2 separate regions of the Homo sapiens genome follow, and region 2 is linked to region 1. The links are contacts of gene promoters, found by promoter capture Hi-C in blood cells and fetal thymus (Javierre and others, 2016). All regions are on one chromosome and are shown on one strand. The core of a region is centred on a gene start or on the middle of the fragment in contact, and the rest is flanking DNA. Distances in the headings are between cores, read along the strand shown. Region 1 holds the start of SMIM23 (small integral membrane protein 23). Region 2 has its middle 140 kb from the start of SMIM23.

Region 1 (6,935 bases), core at 4,145-6,644:
GAGAATATCTCAGCCGGGCTCTGGTGTTCCGCCAACGCTGTTTCTGTCAGCATTCATGAATGTGAACAGCGGACTTCATTTCCCAACTACTTTATTTTCTTGCCTGACTGGAACTTCAAGAGTCAGAGCTCTGCCCCGCTTAGAGAAATCTCTAGCAACCCCTCCCCACCTTTGTGCTCTCTCCCCAGGGCCCAGGCCCACTCCCACAAGTGACTTTTATATGTGGAGCAGTGCTCCTCCTGGTGTGGCTCTCCCAGAAGAGCATCCAGCCACAGTTCCAGGTCCCACGCTAGCTGCTCCAGCTGCTGCACCTCTTCCTCTAACTTCTCCGAGAAGACATGCAACTTCTCCTTCAGCCAGTTCCTGATGGTCTTTATCGGTTCTTCTGAGGGCTCGTTGGTCTGATATTCAAGCCCCTGGAAGGCAGACACAGAAGTGGCATCCTGTGCTTTCTCAGATAGGACCCTCCTCCCCATCCCCACTGGTTTCAAAAAGATCCCTGGGCCTTTGCACATGCTACTCATTGTGCTCGTAGTACCTGTTCCCACCTTCTGCACTTGACAAGCGACTACTTATCTTTCATGACCCATGTTGCCAATGACACCTCCTCTGGAAAGCCTTCCCAGATTGCCTCACCTCAGTACCTTGCTGGACATGTTACCTGGGGAACTGCAAGATTCTGGTAGTAGTTACATTCTCTGATCCTTTCTGACACCTCCCAACTGCTTCCTGAAACAGGCACAAACATCACCTCTGAAGAGCAAATGAGCACTAATTGAAATAAACATGGTTAGTTATCCCAGTGTGATGAAGGGTCAGTGGGAGAAGGTGGGTTATGGAGGTCCCCTTAACATACAACCATCTTTGGAACACTCCACCAAGCTTCATGTGGATTTGGTTCCTTCTTTCTCAGATTCCAGAATGCTCACCCCATATCTCTGTGCTCAAGTACAGCACCAAGATCAGCAATGCCAACAGCGTCTAGGGTGCAAGAAGAGGAAGAGGAGGAAGAACATGAGGATGAATTCTCTCCAGGTCCCCCTGCTTCCATCACAAAGGGCCAGACATGGGAATGCTTATAAGACAGTTTTTTGAGTTTAACTTTTGTTCTAGTTATCTAAGTCACACTTACTTACTACAAAACTCCCAAACTTTGAAGAAATAGATAACACTGCAACTTACTGATGTTCAATTTGCATTTTCTCTCATGTAAACATTTTTCATTTTAATTGATCTTGAAAAGGAATCAACTTCATTGTGGTATAATTTACATATAATAAAACGCACACATTTAAAATGTATAGTCTGATGAGTCTGATGAGTATTGATGAATGTCTATACCTGTAGACTATCACCCCAATCAAGATGTAGAGCATTTCCGTCATCTTAGAAAGTTTCCTTTTGCAGTCAATTCCATCCTCACTCCTGCCCTGCCTGGAGAGAACCATTAATCTGTTTTCTGTCACTGTGAGTAGTTTTGCCTGTTCCATAACCTTGTATAAGTGGAATTACACAGTGTGTGTGCTTTTGCATTTAGTTTCTTTTGCTTAAGACAATGTTTTCGAAATGCCTCTATTTTTTTGTGCTCAATTTTATTGATGAGTATATTGTGTATTTTATTGATGAGTATTTATTTTATATGAACATAGAATATTGCACAATCAGTCTCTTTACCTGTTGATGGACTTTTGGCTTGTTTCCAGTTTGGGGCTATTATGAATAAAAGTGCTATGAACACTCATATACAATTCCTTATGTGAACATATGTTCACATTTCTCTTGGGTTAATATTCAGAAATGCAAATGCTGGGTTATATGGTAAATGTATGTTTAATTTTATAAGAAACCACCAATGACTTTTCTTTACCCACTGAGCAACTATATGTGTCCCCATTTTTGTGGTAAATTGCATTAATTGTGTTTTAAATATTGAGCCAAATGAGCTTCTTCAGTAAACTCTAGTTGTTCATGATGCATTAGCTAGCCTTTTTATATATCATGTGATTTGATAAGCTACTATTTTGTTGAGATTTCTTACCTCTATATTCAGAAGAGATTGGTTTAAAATTGTTTCTAGGCCAGGCGCGGTGGCGCACGCCTGTAATCCTAACACTTTGGGAGGCCGTGGTGATCACCTGAGGTCAAGAGTTCGAAACCAGCCTGGCCAACATGGCGAAACCCCGTCTCTACTAAAAATGCAAAAATTAGCTGGCCATGGTGGCCGGTGCCTGTAATTCCAGCTACTCGGGAGGCTGAGGCAGGAGCATCGCTTGAGCCTGGGAGGCGGAGGTTGCAGTGAGCCAAGATTGCGCCACTGCACTCCAGTCTGGGTGACAGAGCAAGAATCTGTCTCAAAAAAAATTTTTTTTTCTACACGTTTGTCAAGTTTTGGTATCAAGATTTTGTTGCCCCCTTAAAATGAGTTGGTAAGAACTCCCTCCTCCTCTATTTTATGAAATAATTTGTGTAAGATTGGTATTATTTTCATCTCAAAGGATTGATAAAATTTATTGGTGAAAACTTTTGGGCCTGTAGTTATTAAGACTATTTCTTCTTGAGTCAATTTTGTAAGTTGTACTGCCAAGGAAGATTTGTCCATTTCACCTAAGTTAAATGTATTGGCATCAAATTGTTCCTAATATTACCTTAATATTCTTTTAATGCCTGTAAGAGTCATGATAATAATCCTCTTTTATTCTTTTTAAAAAATATATATAAAGAAAAGAGGTCAAGAGAGGAAACAAGAGACCTCTTTCATTCTTGATATTGGTAACTTGTGTTTTCTTTCTATGTATGTTTTTTGTTGAGTCTATTTAGAAGTTTTCCAATTCTTAATTTAATTTTACCAATTAAAAATGGTTATTAATTTTATTGTTTGTCTGCTTTACATTTCATTAATTTCTGATTTTGTCTTTATTATTTATTTCTTTATACTATTGAGTTTAATTCTTCTTTTTCTGCTAATGTGGAAATTTTGACCATGGCTTTTAAAGTTTTCTTGTTTTTCAAATATGTGTGTGTGTGTGTGTGTGTGTGTTTGTGTGTGTGTGCATATTGACTGACATTGAATTTTCCCCAAACTCACTAGATGTTGGCTGAGTCAGATCTAGTTTGCCTTAAAGAAAGAATAAATTTCTTACACACCCAAGTATGTGAAGTGACATTTAGACCCAGTACTAAACAAGGAAGATGAAAGATGTGTCTAACTTGCCTCTTCCCCAGATAATTTTCTTTATAATACTAGCAACTACATTACTATTAACTTAAAAAAAAAATGTTACATAGCAACAACTGGTTGAGTTTCACAGACACAATGATAAGAGAAAGAAGTCAGACACAAAGGTATACATGGTATGATTCCATTTACATGAAATTCAAGAACATAGAAAACTCAGCTATGATGACACAAATCAGAATCACTGCTATGAAGGGTGGGATGCCAGGTGGGCGGAGCCCCAAAAGAGCCTCCCTCAGTGCTAGAAATGTTCCATAGTTTGATCTGTGTGTACACCCAATGCAAAATCATCACACTGTACATGTAATATTAGGGTCCTTTTTCTTTTCTTAACAATATTCTTTAGGAATCTTTTCATGGAAGACACACACTAATTGTCACAATCTTTAAAATGGCTGATGAGTTTTCGTGGCCTGGAAGCTCTTCTATGTGTCTAACCAGTCCTCTATCAATGTATTTTACAGGTTGATTTCTTCCCCGGCATTCTTGCTGCTGGTTTCCATACTGTGCTGCATGGAGGCAAAGGGAGGAACATGGACTAGGATTGAGTTTGAGTCCTTTTCCTTGTGTCGTCTTGGGGCCTGAGCCAAATAATTTCTCTGAGCCTCAGTTTCTTCATCTGTAAAATGGATTTTGAAATACACTGCAAAGTCTTTCAAAAAAGAAGAAGTGGCTCACACCTGTAATCCCAGCACTTTGGGAGGCGGAGGCGGGTGGATCATGAGGTCAGGAGTTCGAGACCAGCCTGGCCAATATGGCGAAACCCTGTCTCTACTAAAAATACAAAAATTAACTGGGTGTGGTGGCGGGCGCCTGTAGTCCCAGCTGCTCGGGAGGCTGAGGCAGTAGAATCACTTGAACCCAGGAGGAGGAGGTTGCAGTGAGCCAAGATCGCACTGTTGTACTCCAGCCTGGTGACAGAGCGAGGCTCCGTCTCAGAAAAAAAAAAAAAAAAAAAAAAAAAAAAAAAAGGAAACAATGGGACTCTGGTAGAATCAAGGTGGGAAATGCTGTGGTAAACAAAGCTATGCAGACTTCTTTGTTGCAGGACTTCTCAGAGCCTTCCTTACGTGAATGAGCAGCGTCAGTCTTCAGGAGGGGATGCGGGTATGCAGCCTTCCCCAAGCCACAGAATTCTGTAAAGAATGTTTCTAAAAGGAGCATTCCTGGGGTCTGGTGTCTATGGAACACTTTTTAGGAAAAGCCGCAGCATGATGGGTGCCCATGAAGGCCCCTGTTATACGCTACAAGGTCCAGCATATAGAAGGCGCTCGGTGCATGTATAGTAAATTAATGAGTGAACAAGTCTTTTGAAAACAGAGACAGCAGAGCTCATTCATTCATTGCTCTGCTTAAAACCCGTCAACAGCTTCTTCTTATCCTCAGAATAAACCCTTGCTCAGGGTTCTCATAGCAGATGAACCTGGTTTCAGGGAGTTCTAAAATCAGATGGATGTGTTTTCAAATCCTGATATGTCCCAGTTGTACGGCCCTTTTGCCTTTCTGGGCCTCAGATTACCCTCTGTGAACGAGGTTGATAGCATCTAAGAGATGGGGTGTGGATGCACCAGGCTGTGTGCAGCAAGCATTAATGTTTTCCATTTTGACGAAATCCCACATGAGTTTTGAATTTCAGCCCTGAGAATGAATCCTCCAGGAGCGCTCCAATTCAGGAGTATTATCAGTTCATTCGTTCATTCAGCATCTACTTGGCACCAAGCACCATGCTAGGCACTAGGGATTCAGCAGGGAACTAAACAAAAAGCCCAGTCCTCCTGGAACATACCTTCTGCTGGCAGTGCTGAGAATTTAATAAGACAGTGTCAGTGATGGCCCCGGCAAGAAGTGCCTAGGCCCCTAAACTGTGCTCCATCAGAGTGGGATCCAGGGACGGTTGGGTCCAAGATTCATTCCGGGCTTTGAGGGACTTCTAGTCTGTCTGGAGTGGCAAAAGGAGCCCAGATGGGAGGAAAGCAGCATGTACCTGGCCTGGCCTCACCTGCTTCTCGTCATCACAGTGGCTGCCCCTTCTCCGTTCAAGCAGCTGGGCTGCCACCTGCTCTGCTGCCACCTGCCTTCTGCTGTCCACTTGCTGGGTTGCCATGGCCTCAGATCTGGCTGCCTGGGTGGACCACACTCAACAGACAGAAGGGCACCCTTCCCCTCCCCCACCTGTGGTCACCAGGCATCCTGCAAACATTGAGTTCTGATGTCACAGAAGGTAGGGACAGCAAGGTTCCCACCTTTCCACCACCCTGATTTTTAGTCCCTTCCCTCATTTTTATTTTTCACATGAGTGTAGAAAACAAAGATCAGGAAGAAATGCATCAAAAGATTATGTTTCAGGATGATGATTTTTCTGATTATTTTCTTCTATATTTGCAAGTTTTTAATAAAAATGCTAATTCTAAAATATAAAAACAATAGTTTGGGTGCAGTGGCTCACACCTGTAATCCCTAGCACTTTGGGAGGCTGAGGCTGGAGGATTGCTTGAGTCCAGAAGTTTGAGACTAGCCTGGGCAACATGGTGAGACCATGTCTCTATTTTTAAAAAATTACAAAAAAAAAAAAAACAATAAAAGCTATTTTTAATTGAAAAATGTATGGAGATAATTGTGGATTCACATGCAGTTGTAAGAAACAATACAGAGAGATCCTGTGTACCCTCTATGAATTTTTCCCCCAGTGGTACAGTAATATCCTGCCTCACTGCAGTAGGAGATCACAGCCTGGATGTGGACATTGATACACTCTACCAATCTTACGCAGACTTCCCCAGTGTTACTTGTTCTCATTTGTGTGTGTGTGTGTGTGTGTTTAATTCTAAACAATTTTGTGTAGGTTTGCTTACTTAGGACAATAGTCAAGACACAGAAGAGTTTCAAAACTACAAGGGGCTTTGTGCTGCTTCGTGATGGCTGCTGCCTCCCGACCCCACCCACACTGTCCTTAACTCCTGGAAATCACTCATCTGCTCTCTCTTTCTAAAATTTGTTTATTCCAAATGCTACATAAATGGAATGAAACAGTATTTAACCTTTGGGGATTGGCTTTAAAAAAAAACATAGTATAATTCCCTGGAAATTCATCCAATTTGTTGCATGTATCAGTAGTTCATTCTTTTTGACTGCTGTGTAGTATTTTGTGATATGTGTATGCCATAATGAAGGACACGTTCCAAACCTGTTCAAAACCCAGCTGCCTCCAGTTTTTGACTCTTGCGAGTAAAGGTGATATGAACATGCTTGTACATGTTTTTGGGTAAACGTAAGTTTCATTTGTCTGGGATAAATGCCTGAGAGTGCAGTTGCTGGGCCATAGCATCATGGCATGATAGTTTTATAAGAAATTGTCAAACTGTTTTCCAGAATGGCTGTGCCATTGTACATTCTCATTAACAGTGTATGAGTGATTTGGTTTCTCCTCATCCCCACCAATATCTGTTTACACTATTTGTTCTTTTTTTTTTTGAGACAGAGTCTCACTCTGTCGCCCAAGCTGGAGTGCAGTGGCACGATCTCGGCTCACTGCAAGCTCTGCCTCCCGGGTTCACGCCATCCTCCTGCCTCTGCCTCCCGAGTATCTGGGACTACAGGCACCCGCCACCACACCCGGCTAATTTTTTGTATTTTTAGTAGAGATGGGATTTCACCGTGTTAGCCAGGATGGTCTTGATCTCCTGACCTTGTGATCCGCTTG
Region 2 (7,133 bases), core at 4,048-6,547, 150 kb after region 1:
CAGCTCTGCCCTCCGGACTCACTCCCTTTCCCTCCCCTTCTTTCTCTGTCTCTCCTCGCCTCCATCTCTTTCACTATTGCTCCTTTTCAAGCCCTCTCTGTCCTTTCCTTTCCCCCTCACAGTTTTCTCTCCTTTTCCCACCCATTATTCTTTCTTCTTTGCCCCCTCTCCCTCCATCTCTCAGAATAACATGCAAAAACCTTTCACTCCTGACTTCCTTCCCACATTCTCACACAAAGAATAAATAAAGAGAATGTCACCAACAAGCATCAACCACTGCGTTTCAATAGACCCTTTGCTCTTAGGAGAGGGACAGACGAATTTCTAAAAAAAAATTTTCTCTCTCTCTCTGACACATTCATGACTTGGCATCCTATAGCAAGTTAAGTATTTTTCCAAACACAGCTAAACTGGTGTGCAGAAAGCTAATGAATTCTGCTAAAAGAAGCTTTCATCTGCAAGTCACTAAAATGTTCTGTTGTTTATTCCCCACCATTTCTTTATTTCTCCACAGTCCTCTCCCCCTACACACACACACATACACACACACAAACACACACACACACACTCATATGCACCCTCCCTCTCACATGCTCACACACATTTCCTTATTGCCATTCCTTTGAAGGGAAAAAAATTCCGGATCCCAAATCTCTGGCAAGGTTCTCTTACAAGATCCTCGGGAAAAGGGCAACTAGTTTTTGCTTAGTGCCTTCTGAATTCCAGGGGACCCCTCAGCCTTGGCTCGGGCCCTCCCAGCACCCCTGCCAGGAGGATAGGCAACCCGTCATACAGATGAATAGCCTGCAGGTCAGAGAGGTGAAGTGACTTGCCTAAGGCCACAAAGACAGGCTAGAGTTGAAAGTCGAGTGTCAAAGCACTCCACATGGCAGTCTGGAAATTCTGCGGGTAATTTCTGAGCGCCAGAAATAAGCTTTTGAAGATCTCCTTTGAGTAAAGCTCATTCATTACTGCACCCAAGAGTATTTCCTCCCCTCTCACAGATAATAGCAACATCAGGAATTTTATCCAAGTTTCATTTACCTCATACCTAGTGTTTCATCTCATCCTTAGCTAACTCTTGGAGACCAGGAGGATGGGGTAGTTTCTACTGCCATTTTGCAGGCAGGTAGACTGAGCCTTGGAAAGGTAAAGTGACTTTTCCAGGGGTCCTCGGTTGATTGGCATGAGGGCAGAGGCTAGAACCCATGTTTCCGTGCCTTACTATGGATGTGGGTATCATCACCTGAGTGGGAGACTATAGAGAGGAGAGGTTTTCAGAGTGACACTGCAGGTAATTTTTTAAAAGTCTAATCTTGTTTTGTCAGTTGCAGACATCATTTATTTGACCTTTGACCCCAGTTTCCACATCCGCCAAATGGAGATAATAATTGCTGCAGGATTCAACGTCAGAAAAGGAAAGAAGTTGGATTTTAAACAATTCTGAATTTAAAAAACAGCAACCATTCCATAGACCCTGTAAGAGACATTACTAGTGCTCACGAATGGCTTGCTTGTCTCTCTGTCCAGGTGCGGGAAAGTCTGCATCTCCAGCCTGCTTGGCTCAGCAGGGCCAGGGGACTTGCTTTGACCAATGGGTGTGAGCAGAAGTTACAAATGTCACTTCAAAAGCATTTAATTGCTGGCTTGAGAACCCCCTCTTTCTCTCTCTTCGTCTTTGGCATTGACTGAGAAGACTTCCTGTTCCAGATGATGATGTAGAAGATGGTGGAATGTCCTTCCACCGGGATTGTGGAGCTGTTGCATAGAGAACAGTTGCCCTGTTCTCTGGCCTAGACCCAGAACACACTCTGCATGGTGAAAATGCAAGCTTTCTGTGAGAGCCACTGAGATTTGGGAGTATCTGTTACTGCAGCATAACCTAACTTACTGCAGTTAATAGTCACTATAATGTGGGCATGTAAGTTAAGGAAGAGTCTCTCAAAATGACTCAAATTAGTTTGCTTCCAGATTACCCATGGCGATGAGGGACACAGCCTACTTACCTGCTAAAAAACCCTTTGCCCTGCCTTTCCTGGCCTTGTTTTCTGGCCTGGTCTTCTCCTCCAAGCCTGGGGCAGACTTCTGCTGAGTCCTTTCTGATTCCTGCTCACAGAAGGGAGACCTTCTGGGGTCTGGGGAGTTTTCATGTCCTACCCATGACCTCCTACCCACCCCATGTACTCCTGCACCTGCTCAGGCCTCAGTACCCCTCACCTGGACCACAAAACTCCTCTCTGGCCTCCTTGTTCCAAGTCCTCCCCTTCCTGTCCATTCTCCACACTGCCCTTTGGTGGTTTGTCCAAAACACTACAGTAATTAGGTCACTCACTGCCTAGAACCCTCCATGGCTCCCTTTTGCCCTCAGGATAAAGACCAAGTTCCATAACTGAGCTCTTCTGGATCTCATGCCTTCAAAACTTAGTTGAAATGTTCCCTCTTCCCTGACTGTTTGCACTCTCACACACAGTTTTGTAATTTCATTGTTTACACATCAATATCCCCCACTAGACTGTAGGCAACTTCAAGGGCAACATGAGTGTTGAGTCCAGAATTTGATCATAGTAGGCAATGAAGGAATGTTTGTTGAGTAGATAAATAAATAAATTATCTAAATTGAGTTCTAGTTCTTCTGTCAACTGAGTGTATGATTCTGGGCAGTTTATTTCTCCCTCTGAGACTCAATTTCCTCATCTGTAGATTAGGGTGAATAAGGTTTTCCTTGCCTATTACATTAGCTATAGTTTTTAAACTCCAGGCCCTTTTGGAGGACAGAATATTTGCAATTCCAGGGGATGTGGGACCACAGCATACCATGTCTGAGGATTTTGGGGGAGAGTAATGAGATAATTGATGCAAAAATGCTTTGGAGCCTGTACAAAGTTAATGGATTGTTGTTCAGACCCAGTCCCTGCCTTTGGAGCTTACATTCTAGAAGGGAGATAGAAACACATGGGGTGCATTCTCTTATCACCCACCCTAGTCCATGGCAGGTATTACAAATCATTCACTGCACTTTAAGCAGGCATCTCCAATTGATTCATATCGAACTGGGAGATACAATCTATTTGCCATTCTGGCTACAGAAGGAGAAACAATCTTTCCAATCCCAGACAACCATGTTAAGTGCCTCATTGACCCCAGAGAATCAAAACCTCAGCCTCTGTTTATTGAGCACTGGCTTCAAGCCTGGTCCTCTCCCCACATAATCTCTTCCAATCTTCATGACGATCCTGCAAGTCAGAGACTATTTACTCCCATTCTCCCCTTTCACAGACCAATCTCTGAGACCAATACCTGGGGCTGCTGACCCCAGTCCACCCATTTGAGCCTGGGTCTGTCTCCAAAGGACACGCTCTTGCCACCCTTCCACACTACCTCTCTCAAACAGGAGTGCAGCAGGTCAGGCACGGGCCACAGATATCAGTGGAGCCATCCACAGGGCTGTAGAGAGAACTAACACCCAGCTACACCTTTTCCGGCAGGAATTTTTTGTTCCTGCTGTATTCAGAGGGCCTGCCAGGACTGGAGTCTGTCTGTTGGGAAAGGCGGCTCATGCTATTTTGATATTGAACCCATGTCCACGGGCCCAGTGATGGACAAGCCTTTTACACATCTCACAAATAAAACTCACAGAGTCATTTTCAGCTTGGCCCGAGCTGTGGGCACAGCCCCAGAGGACTTGGCTCTGCTAATTCTCTCATCAGCCTAATAGGAGAACAATTATCACAGTCAGGATACAAATTTAGCTCCAGACACTTCTCTGGGAACTCAGAGGGCTTGTGACTTATGGCTTCATTTTAAAGAGGAGCAGATTGTTGACATGAACTCTGGGTAGTTCTCATTTTTCTCGAGGAACTAAGCTGTACTTGCTGTTAATGGTAGAATCATTAGGTCATGGCTGAGGTCCACAAGAGGATAGGAAACCCAGCAGCTTGGATGTAGGCTGAGCTCTCTATAATTAACCTAATAGCCTGTTTATTTGACTATCTCAATTACAGACTCATTTAAATAGCATTAAAAATAAAAGATGAGCCCCAGGAGCAGCAGAAGAAACATAAGGATGCTCTTTTGTCCAAGATTTCATAGGACACTATTTGAATGCATAAAAAGCCACTGATAGAGCAGCCACCAGGAAAACTTTCTTTAAAAAACTTTAAATTGAGGCAAAAAAAATGCAAACATGAGCAAGACTGAGCACCCGCAGGCATGTTTTATAGCGAAGTCAAATGATCAGGGTTTGGATGTCAGCTCTGCCAGGGGTTGGATGAAACTTGTGCGAGTCATCTAATCTCTGGAAACCTCACTCTCCCCCTTGGAGGATCCATGGAAAGGGGTCAGCTGATATGGATTACCATCATAGCTAACACATCTTGAGCATTTATGTGCCAGGCATTGTTATACACCCTTTATTTACAGTAACTCATTTAGCTCTTACAGTTCCACGATGAAATAAGTGGTATTATCATCTTCCATTTTACAGACGAGGAAGCCGAGGCACAGAATAGTTAAGTGACAAAACAATGCTCAAGGTACCAGTGTGTGGAGTGTGGAAGCTGGGATTTGAAAGCAGGCAACCTGGCCCCAAAGTCTATGTGCATAACCTCTAGTCTACCCTGCCCTGGGAAGAACCTGCACCACCAGAGGCCTTCAAAACATGATTAAGTTGAATCTATTTCTTTTTCTTTGTGTTGCAAGCGTGGCTTTCCGATGGTTGTGCACATTTTTCTATCTGATATAAATAGCTTTTTTATTTTTCTCCCTCTGTCCCCGCTCCAAATATCAGTCAATACTGGAGAGAAAATAACTGTTTCTGGTTCATGGTGACAAGGTCAAGGCTCCTTTGGAGAATGCTTGTTGGTGCTGTCTCCGTCCTGGGCTGAGAAATCACGGCATTTATTTTAAGCTGAAACTTTCTTATATTTAAAGCTTGTCATCAGGCTGAAGTTTGTTTATTGCATTCCATAATTATGATGAATATATTTTAAATAGAAAAAGATTTGAAATGTAGGACAGCTGCAAAAAATATGGTGTCAATCACTGAGAATCAGCCCACATCTGGAGTTAGAACTTGGGTGGGAATGGCTTGTTTTGCATTTTTATGACCAGATGCATCCAGATTAGATGTACCTTATAAACTTCACCCAGACAACTGTCAGGGCCAATCAGCCTTAATTGAATGCGACATTTTCTCCACCAATCCGCCCTGAGCCCAGGCCAAGAATCCCCCCTGTATCACGCACAGGCCCTGTGTGAGCTCTGCTCGCTGTGCACATCGGATCTGTCAAACACAGGCCAAATTAAATACTGGACTTCATTCCACAATGACTTCCAATTAGGGCAGAATGAAGTCCGGAGGGCTTTGAATGCCCCCCTTGGCCCTGTTACTTGGAGACACAATCAGTGGAAAAAGGGGAGCCAAGAGGTCTGCTGCACCCCCATGCTGTGCCCTGTGCATTGTGCACTTAATATGTGCCAGCCTCATGCATTGAGCACTTACTGTATGCCAGTGATCACGCCTGGCCCCTTACATACACCCTCCCTCTTAGTCCTTCCAACAGCCCTGCAAGGTGAACACGACGCTCCCACTTGACAGGCCAGGAAATGGAGGTTCAGAGAGATGAATGGAGGTTCTGGCCCAAGTTTGCAGGCCAGGAAAGCTTGAATATTCTCATCAGCCACCTTCATTTGGCTAATGGTGGTTGTCAAACTCCCATGGGGACATTCAGACGCATGGGAGGGCATTTTGGTTTGTTCCAATGACTGGAAGGGCATTACTGGCTTCAGTGCCAGGGACCCGGGAATGCTAAACCTCTTGCGACGGGGAACAGAGCCAAAGAGTGAAGAACGGTCGCCTTATCCCCCAACCCTCGCTCATCTATTATCTCTTGATCTGATCCCACACAGGCTGGCACCTAAAATTAGGGAGTATATCATTCAGTTTGCAAATCAGGAGGCTTTGAGAATATTTTCTTATTCCAGATTTCCCAAGACATCGTGTGTTGATACATAACTAACCCTCAAGTGCCAAAGATTGTAACGGAGAAGGGGAAAGAGGACAAGAGGAGAGAAGGGGGAGGATTTCATCTGTTCCAAGGGAATATCTAGTAAATATCACCCCTCAAAATTATTATCAAGGTCATCATTATTACCTCTAAGGTTTGCAAATCAAGGCCGAATTCTACTACAGGTGTGTGTGAACAATAAAATCTTCACAATCTAAGATTTCTACTTCCCAAACTAGAACTAGGGGAGTCTCTTAAAGGAGTAATCAATCATAATAAGAAAAATACTGTCTCATGCTCCAGCTCCTATTCCATGAGCTTAACTTATGTCATCTCCAATCCTTACAGGAATCCTGTGATGTGACAGCTATTATTCTGGCCTTTGCAGAGATGAAGAAACTGAGGCTCAGAGAGGTTAAGGGACAGCCCAAAGTCACACAGCTAGCAGGAGGCAGAGCCATATTTTGAGTCTGATTCAATGAACTGGACCCATTTTCTGAACCTTGAACTCCAAGGAAATCATAGCTAGTTTTGGTGACGAAATGCAAACCAAAAGTGTTGTTTTTTCTTAAAATCACCTCTTGAACTGGTTTGAATGAAAATCCAAAATGAACATGTACTTAACTATTAAACCAGAGAAGGACTGGAACATCAAAATATTGGCAAGACCAAGCATAAATGGAGGTCTCTCTCCACCAGCACGCCTGGTTTTAACAAGTACCATCATTTGTGTCTAGTTCTGGGTAACAAAGAGATTTCCACAAGTCAGCAGCCTACGATGAAAGGATGTTGCTGATCTGGTTACAACAAACTCTATTAAGTAAAAAAATTCCATCTGACAGAGGTTTTCATCAGTCCCTCTCCCTACTGGAGACACTCTCCTCAATAAGAATATGAGTTTGGGATTTGTCTTTTTGTGAAATGAAAATGAAATTAACCAAGAATTTACAAAAAGCTTTCACTCACCAAGGTTGCAAACTCAGAGGCCTCCAGGGGCCAGCCAGGTGAGTGGAATAAATGGAGTCTGAGCATGCTGTGCAATAGGGAGTGGTGAGGACTGTGGCAAACTGAAGAGCCCATGCTGGGGCCAGCTGCAACTCAACTCCAGTCATTTATTTCATAGTGACA

What was found. The method cuts DNA at HindIII sites, captures the fragments that hold promoters and counts their contacts. A CHiCAGO score of 5 or more calls a contact.
Region 2: a contact is called between a fragment that was not itself captured here and the fragment with the promoter of SMIM23 in region 1, in 1 of 17 cell types (endothelial precursors). The highest score is 6.3, in endothelial precursors.

The regions. Positions count from the first base shown.
Region 1 is chr5:171,784,276-171,791,210 of GRCh38, reverse strand. SMIM23 (small integral membrane protein 23) reads right to left here and starts at 5,394. Exons shown (of 4, transcript NM_001289970.2): 1 at 5,235-5,394; 2 at 930-981; 3 at 662-729; 4 at 75-416. The coding sequence starts at 5,339. The coding sequence ends at 123. The HindIII fragment of the contact is 8,257 bases long and covers 885-6,935 here.
Region 2 is chr5:171,637,301-171,644,433 of GRCh38, reverse strand. No RefSeq gene overlaps it. Among named protein-coding and RNA genes, the nearest start is that of SMIM23, 140 kb to the left of the region's middle. RefSeq lists an enhancer at 1-155. The HindIII fragment of the contact is 731 bases long and covers 4,932-5,662 here.